4 separate regions of the Homo sapiens genome follow, and all the other regions are linked to region 4. The links are contacts of gene promoters, found by promoter capture Hi-C in blood cells and fetal thymus (Javierre and others, 2016). All regions are on one chromosome and are shown on one strand. The core of a region is centred on a gene start or on the middle of the fragment in contact, and the rest is flanking DNA. Distances in the headings are between cores, read along the strand shown.

Region 1 (2,700 bases), core at 98-2,597, 240 kb before region 4:
CATTACTAATTAATTCTTTAGGATAAATTCCTAGAAATGTAATAAATGGCTCAGAGTGTAGGACCATTTAAAGGGCAATTATATTATGACAAACAATTTTCCAAAAAAGTGAACCTAGCTTGTAACAGAGAAGGAGCTCACCTTTTGGGTCGAGGAAGGCCCATGGGGGTAAGATTAGGATCTGGCCTAGGAATGGTTTTCCGGATGCGAATCTGTGAGACTTTCTTTGGCCTCTTCTCTGGCTCAGCCTATTTTTAAGGATTAAGAAGAAAGATGGTCAAGCTGTAAGACATTTTATTTATATATTTTTTGAGACAAGGTCTCACTCTGTGGCCCAGGCTGGTGTGAAGTGGTGCAATCATAGCTCACTGCAGCCTTGAATTCCTGGACTCAAATGATCCTCCTGCCTTGGCCTCCCAAAGCGCTGGGGTTACAAGTATAAGCCACCGTAACTGGGAATTTTTATTTTTAGATGGGGTCTCGCTATATTGCCCAGGCTGGCCAGGAACTCTTGGGCTCAACTGATCCTTTTGCCTCAGCCTCTGCGGTAGCTAGGACTATAGGTGTATGCCACCACCCCTGGCATATTGTAAGATATTTTAAATATATAAAGTCCATCTTGACACTTAAAACATTGCTACCTCACTCTAGAGATGACTCTATTAAGCAGTTTATGACAAAGCTCCCACTTCTATTCCTGCTTTTTTTATTATTTATTTATTTTTTTGATAGAGTTTTGTTCTTGTTGCCCAGGCTTAAATGCAATGGCATGGTCTTGGCTCACCGCAACCTCTGCCTCCCAGGTTCAAGTCATTCTCCTGCCTCAGCCTCCTGAGTAGCTGGAATTACAGGCATGTGCCACCACGCCCGGCTTATTTTGTATTTTAGTAGAAACAGGGTTTCTCCATGTTGGTCAGGCTGGTCTCAAACTCCCAACCTCAGGTGATCCGCCCACCTCGGCCACCCAAAGTGCTAGGATTACAGATGTGAGCCACCGCATCTGGCCTTATTTATTTTTTGAGATGGAGTCTCACTCTGCCGCCCAGGCTGGAGTGTGGTGGTGCAATCCAGGCTCACTGCAACTTCCACCTCCTGGGTTTAAGCGAATCTACTGCCTCGGCCTCCAGAGTACCTGGGATTACAGGAATGTGCCACCACATTTGGCTAATTTTTGTATTTTTAGTAGAGATGGGGTTTCACCATACTGGCCAGGCTGGTCTCGAACTCCTGACCCCGGGTGATCCGCCCGCCCTGGCCTCCCAAAGTGCTGGAATCACAGGCGTGAGCCACCGTGCCCGGCCTTTTATTTTTTTTTTAAGATGGGGTTTCACTCTGTCACTCAGGCTGGAGTGCAGTGATGCAATCTGGGGTCATTGCTGCAAACTCTGCCTCCCGGGCTCAAGCAATTCTCCCTCCTCAGCCTCCCGAGTAACTGGGACTGCAGGTGTGCACCACCACAGTCAGCTCATTTTTGTCTTTTTTGTAGAGACACAGTTTTGCCAGGTTGCCCAGGCTGCTATTGAACTCCTGGACTCAAGCGATCCGCCCGCCTCAGCCTCCCAAAGTGCTGAGATTACAGGCGTGTGCCACCGTGCCTGGCCCCTGCTGTGTTTTAAGCAACTACTCCCTTCATATCATCAAAACAAGAATTGTACATTCAGTTCAGATATTGAGACTGTCAACATGAAAGTTTGCAACTGTTGAAGACAACAGACGTTGCAAAATTGAACATCATCACCATCCACTCATCTTCTTTGAATGCACAAAGCAGCTCTTTCGTCCAATTCTCTAAACACTGTTACATGCTGTTGGCAAGAAAAAAGTATCTGGAAAACAATGCAGATTAAAAAATCCACTGTGTCCTTTACTGGCCAAGAGAAAAACTCCTGGCTTAGTACTCTCCAGAACTCGGCTGACACTGAAGGTGGTACGTAAAGATACTCAGAAGCCAGTCTGTAGCTATAATGCGATGTGAGTTGACAATGGCCACCTCCAATGCCACCATCATCTGACCCAACCAGCACTTTACACTTACCTCTTTCTGTTCTGGGGGGCTGCTCTGTGGGCAGGGGCATGCTGCTTTCACACCATCCAGCTCATCCAATCCACGAACCTGGAACTCAGAGGCTGAAAGCAGGAGCTTGCTGACAGCTGATTCTGCTACCAAGCAAGACTTTGGTACCAAGGCAGGGAATGGAGGCTCCAGCCTAGCACCATGAAGAGAAAGAAGATATGAGAGGGGTTCCCTTTCTACTTCCAGCACATTCAACTTCTTCTTCTTCATTTTTTTTTTTTTTTTTGAGAAGGAGTTTTGCTCTTGTTGCCCAGACTGGAGTGCAATGGTACGATCTCGGCTCAATGCAGCCTCTGCCTCCCGGGTTCAAGCAATTCTCCTGCCTCAGCCCCTCGAGTAGCTGAAATTACAGGCATGCGCCACCACGCCCAGCTAATTCTGTATTTTTAGTAGAGACGGAGTTTCTCCATGTTGGTCAGGATGGTCTTGATCTCCCGACCTTAGGTGATCCACCCGCACCGGCCTCCCAAAGTGCTGGGATTACAGGTGTGAGCCACCACGCCCAGCCTCAACTTCTTAACATCTAGGCCTCAATACTTTTTCTTTCTTTCCAGAGAATAATATATCCAGTCAACCTGCATTCTAGTCACTTCCAGACATAGCCTGTATCTACATATGTAAAAAAA
Region 2 (2,700 bases), core at 4-2,503, 130 kb before region 4:
GTGGTGGGCGTCTGTAATCTCAGCTACTTGGGAGGCTGAGGCAGGAAAATCACTTGAACCCAGGATGTGGAGGCTGCAGTGAGCTGAGATCATGCCACTGCACTCCAGTCTGGGTGACAGAGTGAGACTCCGTCTCACAAAAACAAACAAACAAAACAAACCCCAGGCAGCCTCTATTTTTTTTCAATAATACATACTTCAGCGTAAGTTTCTTTCTTTTTTTACATGTTATTTATTTATTTAGTGTCACCCAGCCTGGCACAAAGCTGATTAGTATATGTTTCAACAAATAAGAACTAAAAGAAAACCCATCACGGTACCATTATCATTGGTAACAAAATTAACACTAATCCCTAAATGCCCTCTAATAGCCAGTGCATAGTCAGTTTTTTGAATTGCCTCAAAAATGTGCTTTTGCAGTTAGTTTGAAATGGGACCTAAACAAGATCCACTTTTTGCATTTGGTTATAATGCCTTTTGTGTGTGTGTGTGACAGTAGAATGTCTTGCTTTCTACATTTGGCTGATTGTTGCCTTGTAGTGTTTCAGTTTTCCTCTATTCTGCAGATTCCCTGTAAACTGGCAATTATCTCTGGAAGCTTGATTAGATTTAGATTCAAATTTGAGGGCAAGTAGACTTCTTGGGCACTATGTTCTTTCTCCCACATCACATCATACCTCTCTTCTCATTCTGTTTTTAGTGATGAGAGATTAATCAGTGGGATTAGGTGGGGTCAGCCTGGAGCAGTCCTTTCTTTACAACTATGATCCTAGGACTTTGGCTGCATAATGTCTGTCATTTCCCCCCTCTCTTATATAACATCTCAAGCTGTTAAGGGTGAAGTACCGCATACAGGTTTCCCACTTGTAGATCACACTGGGGATTTTTGTTATTGGGTTCCATGTGGCTTGGGCTGGTGATGGGTTTTAGTTTTAACTCAAGGTAGGACAGCATCCCTCGCTTGATGGTAACTTTTTGTCTCTTGCCTGGCAGATCTGTGCGAGAGCGAGAGAGTCACAGTCGAAAGAGTGCCAGCTCCTGTGATGTTTCATCCAGCCCTTCCCTACCAAGCCGCACACTGCCCACTGAGGAAGTGAGGAGCCAGGCTTCTGACGACAGCTCCCTAGGCAAGAGTGCCAACATCCTGATGATCCCACACCCCCACCTGCACCAGTATGAAGTCAGCAGCTCCTTGGGATACACCAGCACTCGAGGTAAGAGTGCTGAAGCACAGACAGAGCCAGGGACATCTTTCTTAATATAGTGGGTGACTGGAGGTGGGAGGATTGGTCAGAGGTGGGGTGTAAATCCCACATCTTAATGATTTCTTTGCCAGTGCAGTAGGTACAAATCACTTTAGCTGTTAGCTATGTATATATTATACTTCTTTTTTTTTTTTTTTTTTTTTTGGTGACAGAGCACCTAGGATAAAGTGCAGTGATGCAATCACAGCTCACCTCAGTGCGGCCTTGAACTCCTGGACTCAATCGATCCTCCCACCTCTGCCTCCCAAGTAACTGGGACTATAGCATGCCACCACACCCAGCTGATTATCATATTTTTTTTTGTAGAGGTGGGGAAGTGCAGTGATGCAATCACAGCTCACCTCAGTGCGGCCTTGAACTCCTGGACTCAATTGATCCTCCCACTTCTGCCTCCCAAGTAACTGGGACTATAGCATGCCACCACACCCAGCTGATTATCATATTTTTTTTTGTAGAGGTGGGGTTTTACCATTCCCAGGCTGGTCTTGAACTCCTGGACTCGAGGGATCCACCCATTGGCCTCCAAAAGTGCTGAGATTACAGGCATGAACCAATGTTACCGCACCCTGCCTCTATTATACTATTTTTTGTTTAGCCTTTCTTCATCCATCATTTAACTGTATGCCTTTCCATATGTTAATGGAAAGCTTTTCTTAGGCCTAGGGTCAAAAGGGTTTATTTCCTTATGATTTCCATTTGTGCCATATATAAAACAACCTCTGTCTTAATGTTGCATTTTAGTTTCTCATTTACCGGTCGGGCGCAGTGGCTCACACCTGTAATTCCAGCACTTTGGGAGGCCAAGGCGGGTGGATCACTTGAGGCCAGAAGTTTGAGACCAGCCTGGTCAACATGGTGAAACGCCGTCTCTACTCAAAATACAAAAATTAGCTAGGTGTGGTGGCGGGTGCCTGTAATCCCAGCTACTCAGGAGGCTGAGGCAGGAGAATCACTTGAACCTGGCAGGCGTAGTTGCAGTGAGCCGAGATTCCACCACTGCACTCCAGCCTGGGTGACAGAGGGAGACTCCACCTCAAAAAAAAAAAAACAAAAAACTTTTTTTTTCACTTACCTGTTTTTTTTTAACTTTTATTTGCATTGATTTTGTACCGAATTTATTCCCATACTATCAGTTTTTGTTTCTTCAGTTTCTTTCTTTTCTTTTTTTTTCTTTTCTTTTTTTCTGAGACAGAGTCTTGCTCTGTTGCCCGGGCTAGGGTACAGTGGCATGATCTCAGCTCACTGCAACCTCTGCCTCCTGGGTTCAAGTGATTCTCTTGCCTTAGCCTCCCAAGTAGCTGGGATTACAGGCACACACCACCACACCAGCTAATTTTTGTTTTTTTAGTAGAGATGGGGTTTTGCCGTGTTGGCCAGGCTGGTCTCAAACTCCTGGCCTCCAATGATCCACCCACCTCGGCCTCCCAAAGTGCTG
Region 3 (2,700 bases), core at 20-2,519, 220 kb before region 4:
AACTTGGTGCAGGGGATCCCAAATCATTCCTCAGCCAATTTATAATTACACTGAAGTCCTCCCACTCAGAATAACCAAAACGTAATAAATAAAATCAAGTAAAGTAATTTGCACAGTGCTCAACCATGCAAACACTTAATGAAACAAAGGTAGTAAGTATATATTAGATTTTCATCGAGAAAACTTAAATCTGGGCCGGGCGCGGTGGCTCACACTTGTAATCTCAGCACTTTGGGAGCCTGAGACGGGTGGATCACCTGAGGTCAGGAGTTTGAGACAAGTCTGGCCAACATGGTAAAACTCCGTCTCTACTAAAAATACAAAAAAATCAGCCGGGCATGGTGGCACGTGCCTGTAGTCCCAGCTATTTGAGGCTGAGGCAGGAGAATTGCTTGAACCCGGCAGGCGGAGGTTGCAGTAAGCCAAGATCGTGCCACTGCACTCCAGCCTGGGTGACAGAAAGAAAAAAAAAAAAAAAAGAAAGAAAACTTAAATCTGGGTGGGGCAGAGTGAAGATTTTGGCAGCTGGAGCCCTGGAGACAAGCTTGGTTTCTAAGAGGCATCATTCAGTTTTTTTTTTTTTTTTGAGACGGAGTCTTGCTCTGCTGCCCAGGCTGGAGTGCAGTGGAGCGATCCCCGCTCACTGCAAGCTCCACCTCCGGGGTTCACACCATTCTCTCGCCTCAGCCTCCCAAGTAGCTGGGACTACAGACGCCCGCCACCATGCCTGGCTAATTTTGTTTTTTTTCTTGTATTTTTAGTAGCGATGGGGTTTCACTGTGTTAGCCAAGATGGTCTTGATCTCCTGACCTCGTGATCTGCCTGCCTCGGCCTCCCAAAGTGCTGGGATTACAGGTGTAAGCCACTGCGCCCAGCCGGCATCATTCAGTTCTTAATTCCACAGTAAAGATAAAGTAGCAGATGCCTGACCTTGGCAGAGCAAGCCAAAATGCTGGCCACACTACAGAAGAGAACGTGGGTCTATTTAAATCAAATCCATGGTGATGGCATATATTGCTCATGCTCCCAGGGCTCAACATCTTCACAGGCCTGTCTCCACAGAATCTTCTTCTCTGGCTTGCTATGACTGGCTATGACTTTGGACAGCTGAGCCTGCTTCCTCACATGCAACACAGGAATACCCTGGAATGTTCTTGGGGGACAGAATGAACTAGGCCATTGCTGCTAAAAACTCTAGTAGAGATGCTGATTTCAAGCTCGCCTATACCAAACTGAGACCCTTATCCATGGGTTTGGGGGAGAAAAAAAATCAAATATTTTACCAATTTAAGTCATTAAATAAGCATGATATTAGAACATGAAGAAAAGTGTCACAGAGTAATTTAGCTGCAGATACTGTTCAGGAGAGTTCATCTTATCTATGTCCAATGTGGACCAGCTTCTTAGGTGGAGAGTAGCCAGGTAATTTTGAAAAGGCAGATTTCCAAGCAGAAAATAACCCTGGTTCTCCTGTTTAAAAGGCCAGTTCAGTGGTTAAATGAAAGTGTAGTTCAACAGACAGTAAATTCTGTGGTAAGATGTGGGTGAAAATATACCAAAGACTGAATACAGCAATACTGGAGCCCAACTAAACAGATCTTGGGGGTGGGGTTAGGGGCCCACTAAACTGTATCCCTAGTAAGCCTCTAAGAACAGGGTGAGATTTATGTACAAAACACCATTTCTCATCTTCGGAGGAATGTCCTTTAATCTACACTGGACAGTGAAGCCTCTGAGCCACAGAAGAAATCTGCAGCAGCAGGAAGCTGGGTGATAAACTGGGACAAATGTCCTTTTTCATAAGAAAGATTGGTGCTTCCTTTTCTGTCCAGGCTGCCGAGAAGCTAAGAGTCAAATCTGATGTTTCATCACAGTAACAAAATAGTCATATAATTTAATGCAGCAGTCCCCAACCCTGGGCCATGGACCAGTACCCATCCTTGGTCTGTTAGAAATCGGGCGGCACAGCAGGAGGTGAGAAGCAGGCAAGTGAGCAAAGCTTCATCTGCATTTACAGCTGCTCCTCATGCTTGCATTACTGCCTGAGCTCCGCCTCCTGCCAGATAAACACTAGCATTATATTCTCATAGGAGCGTGGACCCTATTGTGAACTGTACATGCAAGGGATCTAGGTTGTGAGCTCCTTATGAGAATCTAATGCCTGATGATCTGTCACTGTCGCCCATCAACCCCAGAGGGGACCACCTAGTTGCAGGAAAACAAGCTCAGGGCTCCCACTGATTCTACATTATGGGAAGTTGTATAATTATTTCATTATATATTACAATGGAATAATAATAGAAACGAAGTGCACAATAAATGCAATGCACTTGAATCATCCTAAAAGCATCCACCCCACCAGATCTGTGGAAAAACTGTCTTGCACGAAACAGGTTCCTGACTCCAAAAATGTCGGGGACCACTGACTTAGCGTATTCACTTTATCTTCTCTTTGTGAGGTTCTGAGACAGGGTCTTGCTCTGTTGCCCAGGATGGAGTACAGTGGTGTGATCACGGCTCACTACAGCCTCAACCTCCCAGGGCTCAAGTATCCTTCTGCCTTAGCCTCCCGAGTAGCTGGGACCACAGGTGTGTGTGCTGCCATGCTAATTTTTGCATTTTTTGTAGAGAAGGGGTTTCGCCACATTGCCCAGGCTAATCTCAAACTCTTGGACTTAAGCAATCCTCCCACCCTGGCCT
Region 4 (2,710 bases), core at 138-2,637:
ACATGTCTTACTCTCTAGAGCAAGATTCCAGGCCTGAAATATGGCTTCCCAATTACCTAAGGATGAAGCCTCAAATCTTTGGCCTGGCATTTAAAAGACTCCGTAATCTTGTTTTACCCAACCTCACTTCCCATTCTTAGGCCTCTCTTCTCACCATCTCCCAGGTCACTGCCAAGCCTTTGCCAATGCTGTACCCCAGGCCTTAATCTTTTTCCTGACTCTCCTTCAAGATCCAGCTTATCCCTGTGGGCTGAGCATGCAGTAGATGCTCAATAAAATTCTCAGCGAGCCCAAGGCCCCCTCTCCTGCACTGCCCTTGGCGTGTTGAAATCAAGTGGGGGCCTTGTTTTAATCATCATTTTCCTAGCTTGTCGGGCAGCCCAGTCCAGGGCCTGGCACAAGGGACCCTCAGCATCCAATACCAGCCAGGATTGGGAGGGGCTCAGTGACCAGCCAGTTGGGCCACCCCAGCTCTTTGCCACAAGAGAAAGTTCAGCCTGGGTTTGGACTCAGATCCTGGCCCCACCACTTACAGGCTGCGTAACCCTGAGCAAGTCACTAACCTCGCTTTTCCTCAGGTTCCACGTTTTAAATATGGGGAGACCAGCTGTGCCCACTGTGGGCTGGGTAGTGAGGATTAAAGAGGAGGATGCTTGTACGGGACTAGCACTGGGCTGGCTCCTAATGTGTCCTGAATATTACTTGTCCCGCCCTGGCCACCCAGTCCCCTCCTCTGGTGGAAGGCACAGCCTGCCCAAGGCTACGTCTCAGGTTGGGTTCGATTGTGTGTGTCTGTGTAGCGGGGCTGTCCCCGAGGGTCGGACTCGATCCTGCCCGGACCAGTACAAGGTGTGGCCCAGCAGAACGCATGGACAGGCAGGGCTCGGGGCGGGCGGGACGGCTGGGGCGGGGCTGGGCGGACCCGCCCCTCGGGGCACGCGGTCTCCCGGCTTCTCCGCCAGTATGTTTGCTTGCTTTTGGGGCCCTTCTCAAGCCAGATCTCTAACGTGGATGGAGTGGCGCGTTTCAGGGTGGGGCTATGACAATGCACTGCCTGTGCAGCCGCCATCACCGCGCCCCCTCCACCGGCTCCGCAGTCTCCTGCCCGGCTTTCCCTTCTCCACCTCCATCTCTGCGGCGGTAAAATGCAGCACTCGCAGAGCGCCTGCGCGGCTTTCAGGCCGGGCGGCGGCGGCGGCGGTGGCTATTTATAGTAGGTGACGTCACCTTGAAATAGACCGTTAGGGCCGGCCCGCCCTTCCCCCCTCCCACTCCCGCCGCTCCCCGCCGCCCGGCCTGGCCACTCTCACTGCGCAGGCGTCGTCCCGTCCTCCCATCCCCCAGCGCGGCCGCGTCTCCTCCCTCGGCGTTGTCCGCGGCGCGAGCCACAGCGCGCGGGGCGAGCCAGCGAGAGGGCGCGAGCGGCGGCGCTGCCTGCAGCCTGCAGCCTGCAGCCTCCGGCCGGCCGGCGAGCCAGTGCGCGTGCGCGGCGGCGGCCTCCGCAGCGACCGGGGAGCGGACTGACCGGCGGGAGGGCTAGCGAGCCAGCGGTGTGAGGCGCGAGGCGAGGCCGAGCCGCGAGCGACATGGGGGACCGGGAGCAGCTGCTGCAGCGGGCGCGGCTGGCCGAGCAGGCGGAGCGCTACGACGACATGGCCTCCGCTATGAAGGCGGTGAGCGCGCCGGGAGCCCGGGCGGCTGGCCGGGGGGGGCCTGGCGTTGGGGAGGGACGGGGATGGCCGCGGGCGCGTTCCCCTCCCGGCCATGGGCGACCCGGCGACCCGGCTGGGCGTGGCCGCCCGCCCGCCCTTAGCCCGCGCTTCCCGCTCCCGCTGGGCGCCCCGCCACTTCCTGAGGCTGGGCCCAGGGTGGGGGATCCGGGAGGGTGCAGTTCGGGATCGCGAAGGCAGCCCCGGAAGGGGGGCGGGCCGGTCGGGGTCGCCACATCTTAGTTCGGAACCCGGCCGGGGGCAGAGGGTGCCCTAGGGGACGCGAAGGAGCCGCATTTCTCCTAGAGCGTTTCACCGGACCCGGGGGCTCCCCCTCTCGTCTTCCTCCGTTCCCCAACTTGGAATAAAGAATCACCTAGTAAGTGGCGCCCTGTCTCAGCTGGTTTTCTCTGCCACGACCTGAAGTCTGCAATTCCGATCTGTTTTGCTCTGCTCGTTCGAATTGTTCTGGTTCCATCTTCCCACGCCTGGGGGTCTGGCTTTGTGTGCGAAGACCCCTTTCCTGCAGTCTAGGCGTGGACGGGGGCGGGAGAGTGGGCGGAGGGTGTGGGGCCCCACTCCACAGCCCCAGGTTTGCTGCTGCGCTGTCTGCTTGGAGATTAAAATGAAACGTGACTTCTAGGTGAGACGAATCTGTGTGTCTTTGCATTCCTGAGACCCTCATAAATCGATTCTGCAGCTTCTCCGGTGGATGAGTCGTGCCCAGCCACACCCTAGCAAAATACCGTGGGTCACACACCACCTGCATTTCTGAGTTCCGGTTACCATCTCACTCTCTCTCCACGTTATTTTACGTTTTCTGTAAATGAATATTTCCTCTCCCTGCGTCAAGGTCACACAGTGGTAGAACAACTGCGACCACCAACCTATGTTCAGTGTACAACCTCCTGAGACCTGGGAGGATCCCCTTGAACTCCGCCTTAGACCTATACATTCAGAAATTCGGGCGGTGAGACTCAGACATCTGCATTGTAACCAGC

What was found. The method cuts DNA at HindIII sites, captures the fragments that hold promoters and counts their contacts. A CHiCAGO score of 5 or more calls a contact.
Region 1: a fragment that was not itself captured here is called in contact with the fragment with the promoter of YWHAH in region 4 in 2 of 17 cell types (endothelial precursors and naive CD4 T cells); the score reaches 8.6 in endothelial precursors.
Region 2: a contact is called between a fragment that was not itself captured here and the fragment with the promoter of YWHAH in region 4, in 3 of 17 cell types (endothelial precursors, megakaryocytes and erythroblasts). The highest score is 10.9, in endothelial precursors.
Region 3: a fragment that was not itself captured here is called in contact with the fragment with the promoter of YWHAH in region 4 in 1 of 17 cell types (endothelial precursors); the score reaches 5.1 in endothelial precursors.

The regions. Positions count from the first base shown.
Region 1 is chr22:31,701,515-31,704,214 of GRCh38, forward strand. It overlaps PRR14L (proline rich 14 like), which reads right to left. Exons shown (of 9, transcript NM_173566.3): 6 at 2,036-2,207; 7 at 142-248. Among named protein-coding and RNA genes, the nearest start is that of PISD, 41 kb to the left of the region's middle. The HindIII fragment of the contact is 3,996 bases long and covers 1-2,700 here.
Region 2 is chr22:31,813,999-31,816,698 of GRCh38, forward strand. DEPDC5 (DEP domain containing 5, GATOR1 subcomplex subunit) reads left to right here. Exons shown (of 43, transcript NM_001242896.3): 21 at 994-1,214. It also overlaps the pseudogene RPL17P52. Among named protein-coding and RNA genes, the nearest start is that of DEPDC5, 61 kb to the left of the region's middle. The HindIII fragment of the contact is 1,314 bases long and covers 597-1,910 here.
Region 3 is chr22:31,721,955-31,724,654 of GRCh38, forward strand. The region is part of intron 3 of PRR14L (proline rich 14 like); the gene reads right to left. Among named protein-coding and RNA genes, the nearest start is that of PRR14L, 27 kb to the right of the region's middle. The HindIII fragment of the contact is 1,455 bases long and covers 543-1,997 here.
Region 4 is chr22:31,943,148-31,945,857 of GRCh38, forward strand. It overlaps YWHAH (tyrosine 3-monooxygenase/tryptophan 5-monooxygenase activation protein eta), which reads left to right and starts at 1,388. Exons shown (of 2, transcript NM_003405.4): 1 at 1,388-1,673. The coding sequence starts at 1,587. It overlaps YWHAH-AS1 (YWHAH antisense RNA 1), which reads right to left and starts at 2,219. Exons shown (of 3, transcript NR_171018.1): 1 at 2,086-2,219. LOC124900477 (a long non-coding RNA gene) reads left to right here and starts at 1,687. Exons shown (of 3, transcript XR_007068065.1): 1 at 1,687-2,088; 2 at 2,353-2,531. RefSeq lists enhancers at 1-707, 708-1,565, 2,309-2,358 and silencers at 829-978, 1,259-1,348, 1,359-1,578, 1,649-1,988. The HindIII fragment of the contact is 4,478 bases long and covers 1-2,710 here.